Regions from separate parts of the Homo sapiens genome. Here region 2 is linked to region 1. Evidence: promoter capture Hi-C in human tissues and cell types (Jung and others, 2019). All regions are on one chromosome and are shown on one strand. The core of a region is centred on a gene start or on the middle of the fragment in contact, and the rest is flanking DNA. Distances in the headings are between cores, read along the strand shown. Region 1 holds the start of FNDC9 (fibronectin type III domain containing 9). Region 2 overlaps CYFIP2 (cytoplasmic FMR1 interacting protein 2).

Region 1 (5,273 bases), core at 1,099-3,598:
TGGAAGGGGCAAGATGTTCCAGCACCACGGAGCTGATCGTTCGAGGCACCTTCTCCTCGTGGTGGAAGCTGTAGCGAAGATAGCCAGAGAAGATGCTGTTCCAGTTGGGCCTGTACATAATATGGTAATAGTCCTCCAGGCAGGGCTCCGAGGACGACCAGGAGATGATGGCTCCTGTATAAGAAATGTTCCCCACCTCGATGTTCATCCCGATTCTGGAACCAGAATCAAAGTGAAGAGTGACATCCCCTGATTTAAGTATGTATTTATCATAATCATAGCCACCATTTATTGCACATTTGAGACGGGCACTCATGTTGCCCTCATCTTACAGACAAAGAAATGGAGGCCGAGAGGTTCTGTTATTTAGGCATAGCGAAAAAGTGGCAGGACAAAAGTTAAAACTGGGGCTGTCCCATGCCAAAGTTCAGGCCTAAGAACAGATGCACCCATGCAATCCCAGCCACATCCCACCCTAGCTGAGATCCTTCAGATAACAAAGGGGATTTTCTTAAGGGGATTGTTCTCATCCCCTTAAGAAAAAAGAAGAAAAGGTAAGGAGAAATCAGTAGAACCTCAGAGGCTCCACCTTTATTCTCAGGTCTGTGACCTCCCCTCAGGCAATTGATTCACCTCAATTTTCCTTCTTGACCTCCTGTTTCTGCTCCAAGTACTGTGAGCTCAGTGATCTAGAACATTCTGCCCACTGCTTTTTTTAGCCTCCTGGTTCTGTTGCCCATGGTGAGTGGAAATTCGCTTCGTCACTCTTTGGCAGCTGATCTCACCCCAAAGCTTCTGCTCTTGTTTTGTTTGTTTGTTTTTTCAAAGCCAGCGGTACCAGGAAATTTATTTTATGGGTGAAGATAATCAGCCCCTAATATCAGCATAACTACCACTATTTAATTCTGCTGTTATTATGAATGTTAATCATGGTAATAACCACTCACAGTAAGTGGTTGCTATGTCACTTGTCATGCTAGATGATTCACAGGCAGTAATTAATTTCCTTTATTCTTCATCACATCCTCTGAGCTAGATTCCCATTTTACGGATGAGCAACCTGATGTCACACCGCTAATACGTAGAAAAAGGACTTAGTGCCGCCTAACCACTACATTTCCTAATGCAAGGCTGCCGGGTTTAGTTACAGACGTTATCGCAAAATGAGGTGCCAGGACTGAGACCCAGTTGCTGTTTTTCCAGACAAATCAAATGAGCCCTCTTTAGATTGCCAGGCCCCGCTTTGATAAGAGAGAGCCATCTTCAAGTATTTTAGTTTCTCTCATGCAGTTCCCTCTACTGATTGCCCCTGATCAGAAATACAGAGACAGTCATAGTCAGCCTACGCATATTCACATAACAGTCTCACCCTGCTTTGTCTTCCGCCTCTCCTCCCTCACATGAAACCCCGTAGGTTTCATTTTGGGTTGCAGTGACATAGTAAACAGCTGTCAACTGGATTTTCGCCTGCATTGGATATTAAGCCAAACCAATGGCTATTATGACCTGCCTTTCTCTCACCTCTGCTTTCCCCCATCCTCTTGTGTTTGTGCCCATTTTCCTCCAGGAGTGGAGCTGCAGAAAGGTGCACAGCATTGAGTAGTTTCTTAATCCTTGTTTTTCTTCTGTAAGGGTAACAGTGAACTAAGATACTCAGGAAGGTGAATAGTGTCTTTCTATGTGGCTGAATATTTCTTCCCAGTAAATAGGGAACGAAAGGGATGAGACGGATGTGCTCAGACCCTTCCAGGGAAGGTCATCATGAAGGAGACCGAATGTTTATGTTTCCTAGCTTGGTGTCCTCTACACACTCATCCTCCCCACACCACACATCACTATAAATACACTTTCGACCACGATGAAAAGAGCTTAATTCATTATAGGCAGCCACCTGTGTAAAACCTTTCCATCAGGAGTAATCAGGAATCCTGTTTCTTGTCACGCACAAATGTTCTCTTGGCTTCCTATCTGCCACTAGCTGTCTGTACAGATGGAATTACCTCAGCAGACATTTTTAAGAGCTTTCTGTCAAGACGCAAATAGCATCCTCACCTTTTAGGACCAGGTCCGTCTCCCTTATTGATTTTTCTTCCTCTGTTTCCGTTTCTAAATTCTCCCCTATTTTTAACTATTCATTTGCCCGGCCCTTCTCCAAGCAGAGTGTGAAAAGAAGCCATTTCCATTTCCAAGAAGAGCCATCTATATGTCTTACCTGATGCTTGCAGCGTGTCTGGTTAGAGCTCTGCCCTCCGAGGTGCAGTAGATTAAAGCTGAGAGAATGGGGCCTTCTCCCTCCTCTGCTCTGGGCTTTCCGTGTTGTTTCTCTCAACACTGAGTAATCCCACTGCCGCCCCTAATGCTCACATTATTCATTTCTTCAGATCAGCATCATTCACCATGGCAACCAGCAGGCATCTGTACGCACGATGCTTTCAGGGACCAGCCTGGAAAGGCTTTTGCCCAGTGAGAGGAGCTCTCATTCCTTTGGCTGAAAAAGGGCAGATGATCCCCTGAAAACTGGTCCCCAGTGCAGTACTAATTCTTCTAACACTCCTACATTTTCTCCCCAGTTGGCTGATTATTATTTTCTTGTCCCATCTAGATCCTCTTTGGCCAATGGTTTTAAATGCAAAGATGCTTTTCTCAGTTATTCCACAACCAAAGCAGTAATATTCATCTTCATCCCCTCCCACCCCTACACTTCCCCATCCCAACTGCCTACCCCACCTCTTTATCTTCATCTTTCTTTATTCTTGACTCATGTGCCATTACATAGTTATATGGTACTGGTCAAGACCCTTTTATTTTTATTGTCTGAGTCTCAGTTCCACCATCATCTGTAAAGCTGTGGGCTTGGGCTACATCAGGATGGCAGATCAGAAGGCAGAAGACCTGAGCCCTATCCCTGCACAGCCCTGAACCCCTGTCAAGCTTGCTAAACCATCATGGCACTCTCACTGGGTTGAATAATGCCCCCCCAAAATACATATCCATCCAGAACCTTAGGATGTGACCTGATTTAGAAATAGAGCCTTCGTAGATATAACTAGTTAAGGATCTCAAGATGAAATCTTCCTGGATTTAAGGGTGAGCCCTAAATCCAATGACTAATGTCTTTGTAAGAGAAAAGACAGAGAGACTCAAGGGGAAGAAGCCAAGGGAAAACAGAGGCAGAGAGTGGAAGGATGCTGCCATCAGCCAAGGAACACCGGGAGCCATCAGCAGCTGGGAAGGCAAGGAAACATTCTCCCCTAGAGCCTTGGAGAGGGCATGGTTCTGCGAGAGCCTTGATTTCAGGCTTCTGGTCTCCAGAACTGTGAGAGAATAAATTTCTGTCATGTTAAGCTGCCACATTTATGGTAATTTGTGATAGCAACCCTAGGAATCTAATGCAGCACTGCTTCCAGCTGGGTGCAGAAACAGCCCCAGAGTTCCTCTGAACACAAGCGTCCCAAGAAACTGCTTCCCAATCAATCAGTTGGAGTTGACGCCAGAAATGGAAACTGTTTGCTACTCCTGGATTGAATCATCCCCAGCGTTCCTTTCCTTTCAAGAATCCAGACTGCTTGCCTCCCCTTTTCTCATAAAGGGCCGTCTGGCTTTGAGGTTCCATCCCTTCCTGTTCCTTTCAACCTTGTAAGAACCCATTGCCACCATTCTATTGAGATCACAGGGTGTGTCTGGAATAGAGGGTGGAAAGTAGCTCAGATAGATGTAGACCTGAATAAATTTATACACATTATATGTTTTTAAAAGTCAGCTTTTCTCTTCTTGGTTCTTGGCCAAAGTATCCAAGTTAACCCATGAAGGTCTCTTTCTGATTCACATTAATGATAAAAGGTTAGGAAGAAAGCCAGGCACAGCTGCAGTGGTGTGCACCTGTAGTCCCAGCCACTTGGGAGGCTGAGGTGGGAGGATCACTTGAGCTTAAGAGTTCCAGACCAGCCTGGGTATTATAGAAAGACTTTTTCCCTTGGAAAAAAAAAAAAAAAAGAGCCGCCTTGGTGAGTTGTGACCCTACCCTTGGCCAAAGGTCTCCGGGAGGCTTGGAGTCTTGGGAACTCGGGAACAAGCCAGTGTTCCTTGATCAGAAAGTTGCTCTGCAGCTTGCCCATGGCATTCAGTCTTCCCAGGCGCCTGTCTTAAATCTGCAGCAATGCATGCAGCATGTCTCTTCCCATGCGAGCACAGCCAGGTCAAGTGCTAATGGTGAGTCCCCACGGAGCATAAAAGCATCCTCCCCACAGAAAGGCCACGCAGCTGTTTGCAGATGCCCTTTGAAAAGGTTATTTTGCGGGGAGTAAAAATACCAGAGTTAAGGGGTCTGAGGAGGAACAAGGTAGAACTCAAGCCTTTTTCCACAGAAAATTGGAATTTATTTTTAATATTCTTGGATGACATTTTTAACCAAGAGAAATTTTCCACTGTGGAATTAAGATACTCAGAGAATGTGAGGCCTCCAAGCCCTCTTGTTTCACAGTCCTGGGAGAAGACATGGCATTCCTCAGACCGCTTGACTGATGAGTGGCAGAGCTGCCAGTGAAATGGGGTGGGGCCCCAGACTCGGAGGCGGAGGCCAGGGTTCATCCCGCTCCTCTGAGCTGTCGCCGCTCACCAGCAGCACCCAGAGGAGCCAGTGCAGCCGTTTGTGAAGGAGATAAAGTATCTGGGACACCTGCCCCAGGACATTACACCCCAGCCAGGCTCACACTTTCTCCATCATCAGGGACAATTCCTCCAGAGTCTGTGCAAGTTGTAGCCTCTTCGCTCTCAGGCCAGGTGAGCCCCAGCTAGTTGACATCAGTAGTAAATTACTGCTAGAGGAAATCAGCTAGGAGCAAGGTTCTTCCACCCTTCCTGAAGGTGGCAGTGAAGGGATAATATGGGGCAAGCCCCAGTCCCAAAGCTGGATTGGCACATGGGGAAAGTGAGTGGCTCACAGAGCACGCCCTGGAATTCCCAGGCTGGAGTGCAGTGGCACAGTCATGGCTCACTGCAGCCTTGACCTCCCAAGGCTCAGGAGATCCTCCTGCCTCAGCCCCCTCAAGTAGCTAGGACTACAGGTGTGCACTACCACCCCTGGCTAATTATTATTATTTTTGAGCTGGAGTCTCACTCTGTTGCCCAGGCTGGAATGCAGTGGCAAAATTGCGGCTCACTGCAACCTCTGCCTCCCGGGTTCCAGTGATTCTCCTGCCTCAGCCTCCCGAGTACCTGGGACTACAGGTGTGCACCACCATGCCCAGCTAATTTTTGTATTTTTAGTAGAGACG
Region 2 (3,677 bases), core at 1,114-3,613, 75 kb before region 1:
GTATGCATGCATGTGCATGCGTGCATGTTTGTTTGACTGGTCAGGTGTTACTGTCACCAGAAGGCATTTTTTGAGCACCCAGTGTCCACTTTCGGGATGAGAAACTTGTGTACACAGGGTTCCTCGTTGGCATTGGCTGCCCTTTGCCAAGGCAATTATTAGACCTCAAGAAGATAGTGTTGTTGCTTACAAAGTCAGTGCCTCTAGCTAGTTGTGCGCACTGAGCCTCTGGCTGGGGGCATTAGCTCTCTGCTCACTAAGCTTCTTTATTATATTTCCTGGCCAGTTCTGACCGGTTCTGTAGGCACCCAAGGCTGCCTTGTTCAGTCCCTGCTGGAAAATGAAAAAGGAAAAACTTGCTTTAGGCATTAGGCCAAGAGTCGGATGTACAACCCAGTGGGGTTGGAGAGTTTTACTCAAATCAGATGCTGGCCCAGAGAAGGAAGTAGACATGAATTCAAAAACCGGTAAAAGGCCCTGGTAGAACACTACATGACCCCTCTGATAAATCATGCCCTCTCTGATGTTCAGTGGCCTCTGCTGCTGTCATCAACCAGAAAGCTGAATGAGATGATGAATCGGCTACAAGCTAATTAACGGGAAAAGCGCTCCTGGAAAACAGTACGGGTCCCAGTCCCTACGTTTAAAGATTGGACTACACTCTCAACGCAGCTTCTTTGGACCACTGTTGGCCCCAGGGGTCCACCAAAAGCGTCACAAAATGGCCTTTTGTAGCCTCCATGTGGCCACCGTAACAATGAGTCTATTTCTTTACTGGCAAGTATTAATTATTCACTTGTAATTGACAAAGCCAGACATCAGTCACCTCACTGGAGTCTTTATGAAAGGCTTTTGGTCCTGTCATTCTGAGGAGCAAAGCCATGCCTAGGGTCCAGGGGATGGCCCCTGCATCAGTAGTGAGATGGTGGGAGAAGGGGGGCAGGCTGCTGCCTTCTTGGCAGTGAATGGAGGCAGGGGAGGAACTAGAATATCTTTGGATGCTCTTACTACCCAAGGGGTGCATGAAAGTGCCGAGCAGAATGCTTAGCACATAGTAAGTACTAGCATATTTATGTATTTATTGTTATAATGTATTAATTACATAATCATTAAGAATTTGGCTTATGTATGTAATCAACCCTTGGCTATTACCAGCCCCTCTCCCTCCAGAGCTTTCCTGAATTTTGCTTTTTTGAGGGAAGTTGGTCTCTGTGACCAGTAAACCCAGCCCCAAGTTTACCGGCCGAAGGAAGGGAAAGTTAAGAGTGATAGGGCATGAAGTGAAAGGCTTCAGGTGGGAAGTGCTCTTAAGTAGCACAAGAGAGGTGGGTGGAACCTGAGTAGGTAGGGAGAAGTGGGAGGGAACAAGCCAAGCAGAAGCCCAGGGCCATTCTCACATTTCAACACGTAGAGTTAAGGAAGGGCCTCTTCCTCTGTGAGAATTCAGCATTTTGCAACCATCCAAAAATGTTGAGGGCATGCTTTGCTTCCAGGGCAGACAGAGCAGCACAGTGAGCATGGGACACAGGATCCCTGACTTGCTGTGTGCCCTTAAACCAGCCACTACCTCTCTGACGTTCAAAATTGAGCAATGGAAGGCAGCCTGCCCAACTGTTACCTGCCTGTCATCATGAAAGCCTGCGGATGAGGTAATGTCTGTAAATCCCAGTCTGAGAAAAAAAAGCCGTGGAAATAGAGAAGGAGCCTCCTGAATGTGTGACTCTTTTGGGTAAATGCCCTCCATTCCTTAAGAAACAATTTATTAATTATATATTGTGTGTCACTTTAAGAAGATGGATCTGTGGCCTCTCTGTACTGTTGAGCCAATGGGAAGCTTAAAGGCACTTTGTGATTCACAGATTCTGTCAAGGCCCCTGGATGGCCTTGTCTGTACAAAGACACTTCAGAATTCAGTCAGTGGGTATGGGACGCCTCCCAGGATGCAAAGAGCTTAGATATTGGCTTTCTAGCCATGGGCATTATGCTAAGGGCTGTGTGTGATGTACCTCAAAAAATAGCCATTTAAGCCATACTTGGGCCCTGGCAACAGAGGGTGCAAATTCTTGAAAGAAATTGTTTTGAGAAGGCAGAGCTTGAGTTCAGGCAGAATTTCTTGCAGGGATCATTCTGGTTGCGTGGCATTTTGATAGACTTTGGGCAACTCAGATACAGGCAGTGAGAGAGGGAAGTAAATAGGACCTTCTTGCGAGATGCCTGAGAAAGACCCAGTGATGACTTCATCAGTAGACCTTTTGATTCTGTTTGCGTCATTATTTGGTCATTGTAGAGCAATGGTTCTTAGGCTTTAATCTCTAGGTAAAACAGAGGTGTGTTTAGTCTGTCCATGTTCTCTGTTTTCTAAGTAAGGCAGGAGGTGAGGTCCTCTGCAGGAAATAAAGGTGATGGACTGGTTAGGAAACTTCAGGAGACTTCAGGGTTTGGAACAGTTGCCTATGTGGGTGGAATAAGAAATAAACTGGGGAAGAATGAGAGAATTGTCTAACTTCACTGAAGGCCTGGCTGAGATCAAAGAGAATTTGCAGGGCTGACCCTCAGAGAAGACATGCAGTAACTCTTAAGGAATATCCGAGAACTATTTTTGATTTGTGCTTTTAAAATATGATGCTTTAAGATTTGTTTTGGCAAGATATGAATGGCAAGATAAGAATTCAGAACTAGAGGTCAGCCCCCTATCTCCAAGTCTGTTATACTTCCATATGGGAAAGAGAAATGAGGACCTGCTTCTTAGGGTTTGAAGTGGAAACTATACGACAGAAGGATTTTCTAAAGAACTCTCCTCAGATTCTTATATTGACAAGGCAGCCTTGGATATGGGACCTTAGAGAAGCATGATATTTTAACTTTCTTGTTAATTTTTTTAAACCAGAAGTTAAGAATTTTGGTCATTGGCTCATGCAGTCAACAAATCATTCATGAAGTATTAATTAAGCAAGTAATTCCTGGTGTGTGCCTATCTCTGTGCTGGTTGCTATGGGTCAAACTCAGATAAGATGACTATCCTTGGCATTCTTAGCAATCCAAAGAATTAGTGAAATATAAAGCAGTTTGTCGTGCAGTTAAAAACTGTGGACTCTAGACTGTGAGTGCTAAGGGAGTGAGAGAAATAAAGGTCATTAAGGGGCTTGGCTGGTCAGACCTTTGTGGAAAAGGCATGTCTTCGTGTGGGCCATGATAGATCGGTAAGATTTGAGAAGGGAAGAAGACAGTCCATAAGGGAGTGGAGACAGTTTGAGCAAAGGCACAAAGGAAGAGTATCCTTGGACAGGTTTATTATGCCCTGTATACCTTGGCCACAGAGAATGGTCTGCATGATCCTTAACACATGTCTTTAAGGAAGCCCTTTGGATGGAATGTCTCAACTGTAGTCATGGTCATTTGCTTTAGTGTTGGGAGGGTCCTGAGAGAGGCCCAAATCCAGTGATTCTTAACTGGTTGCTGTTGTGGTTTTTTTAGTACACAAAATGGACAATGTTGACATGCTGAACACATCAGCCCCCACAGCCAACCCCCCAACTCTGCTCCATTCCTGCCACTCAAGGGAAGAGATGAACATGCAAGCAATAATATCACACAGAGATCTTGAACCCTCGCCTCACATACAATAAAATGTACCTTGTTTGCAAACCTCAGTGCTTAAGCTATTATTAGCACAAGTT

What was found. The method cuts DNA at HindIII sites, captures the fragments that hold promoters and counts their contacts. A contact is called where the count stands out against the background at its distance.
Region 2: a fragment that was not itself captured here is called in contact with the fragment with the promoter of FNDC9 in region 1 in 3 of the 25 tissues and cell types used here (H1 embryonic stem cells, dorsolateral prefrontal cortex and hippocampus).

The regions. Positions count from the first base shown.
Region 1 is chr5:157,343,329-157,348,601 of GRCh38, forward strand. It overlaps FNDC9 (fibronectin type III domain containing 9), which reads right to left and starts at 2,349. Exons shown (of 2, transcript NM_001001343.4): 1 at 2,213-2,349; 2 at 1-215. The coding sequence starts at 208. The region is part of intron 23 of CYFIP2 (cytoplasmic FMR1 interacting protein 2); the gene reads left to right. The HindIII fragment of the contact is 6,264 bases long and covers 144-5,273 here.
Region 2 is chr5:157,267,935-157,271,611 of GRCh38, forward strand. All of the region lies in intron 1 of CYFIP2 (cytoplasmic FMR1 interacting protein 2), which reads left to right. Among named protein-coding and RNA genes, the nearest start is that of CYFIP2, 3.6 kb to the left of the region's middle. The HindIII fragment of the contact is 6,073 bases long and covers 1-3,677 here.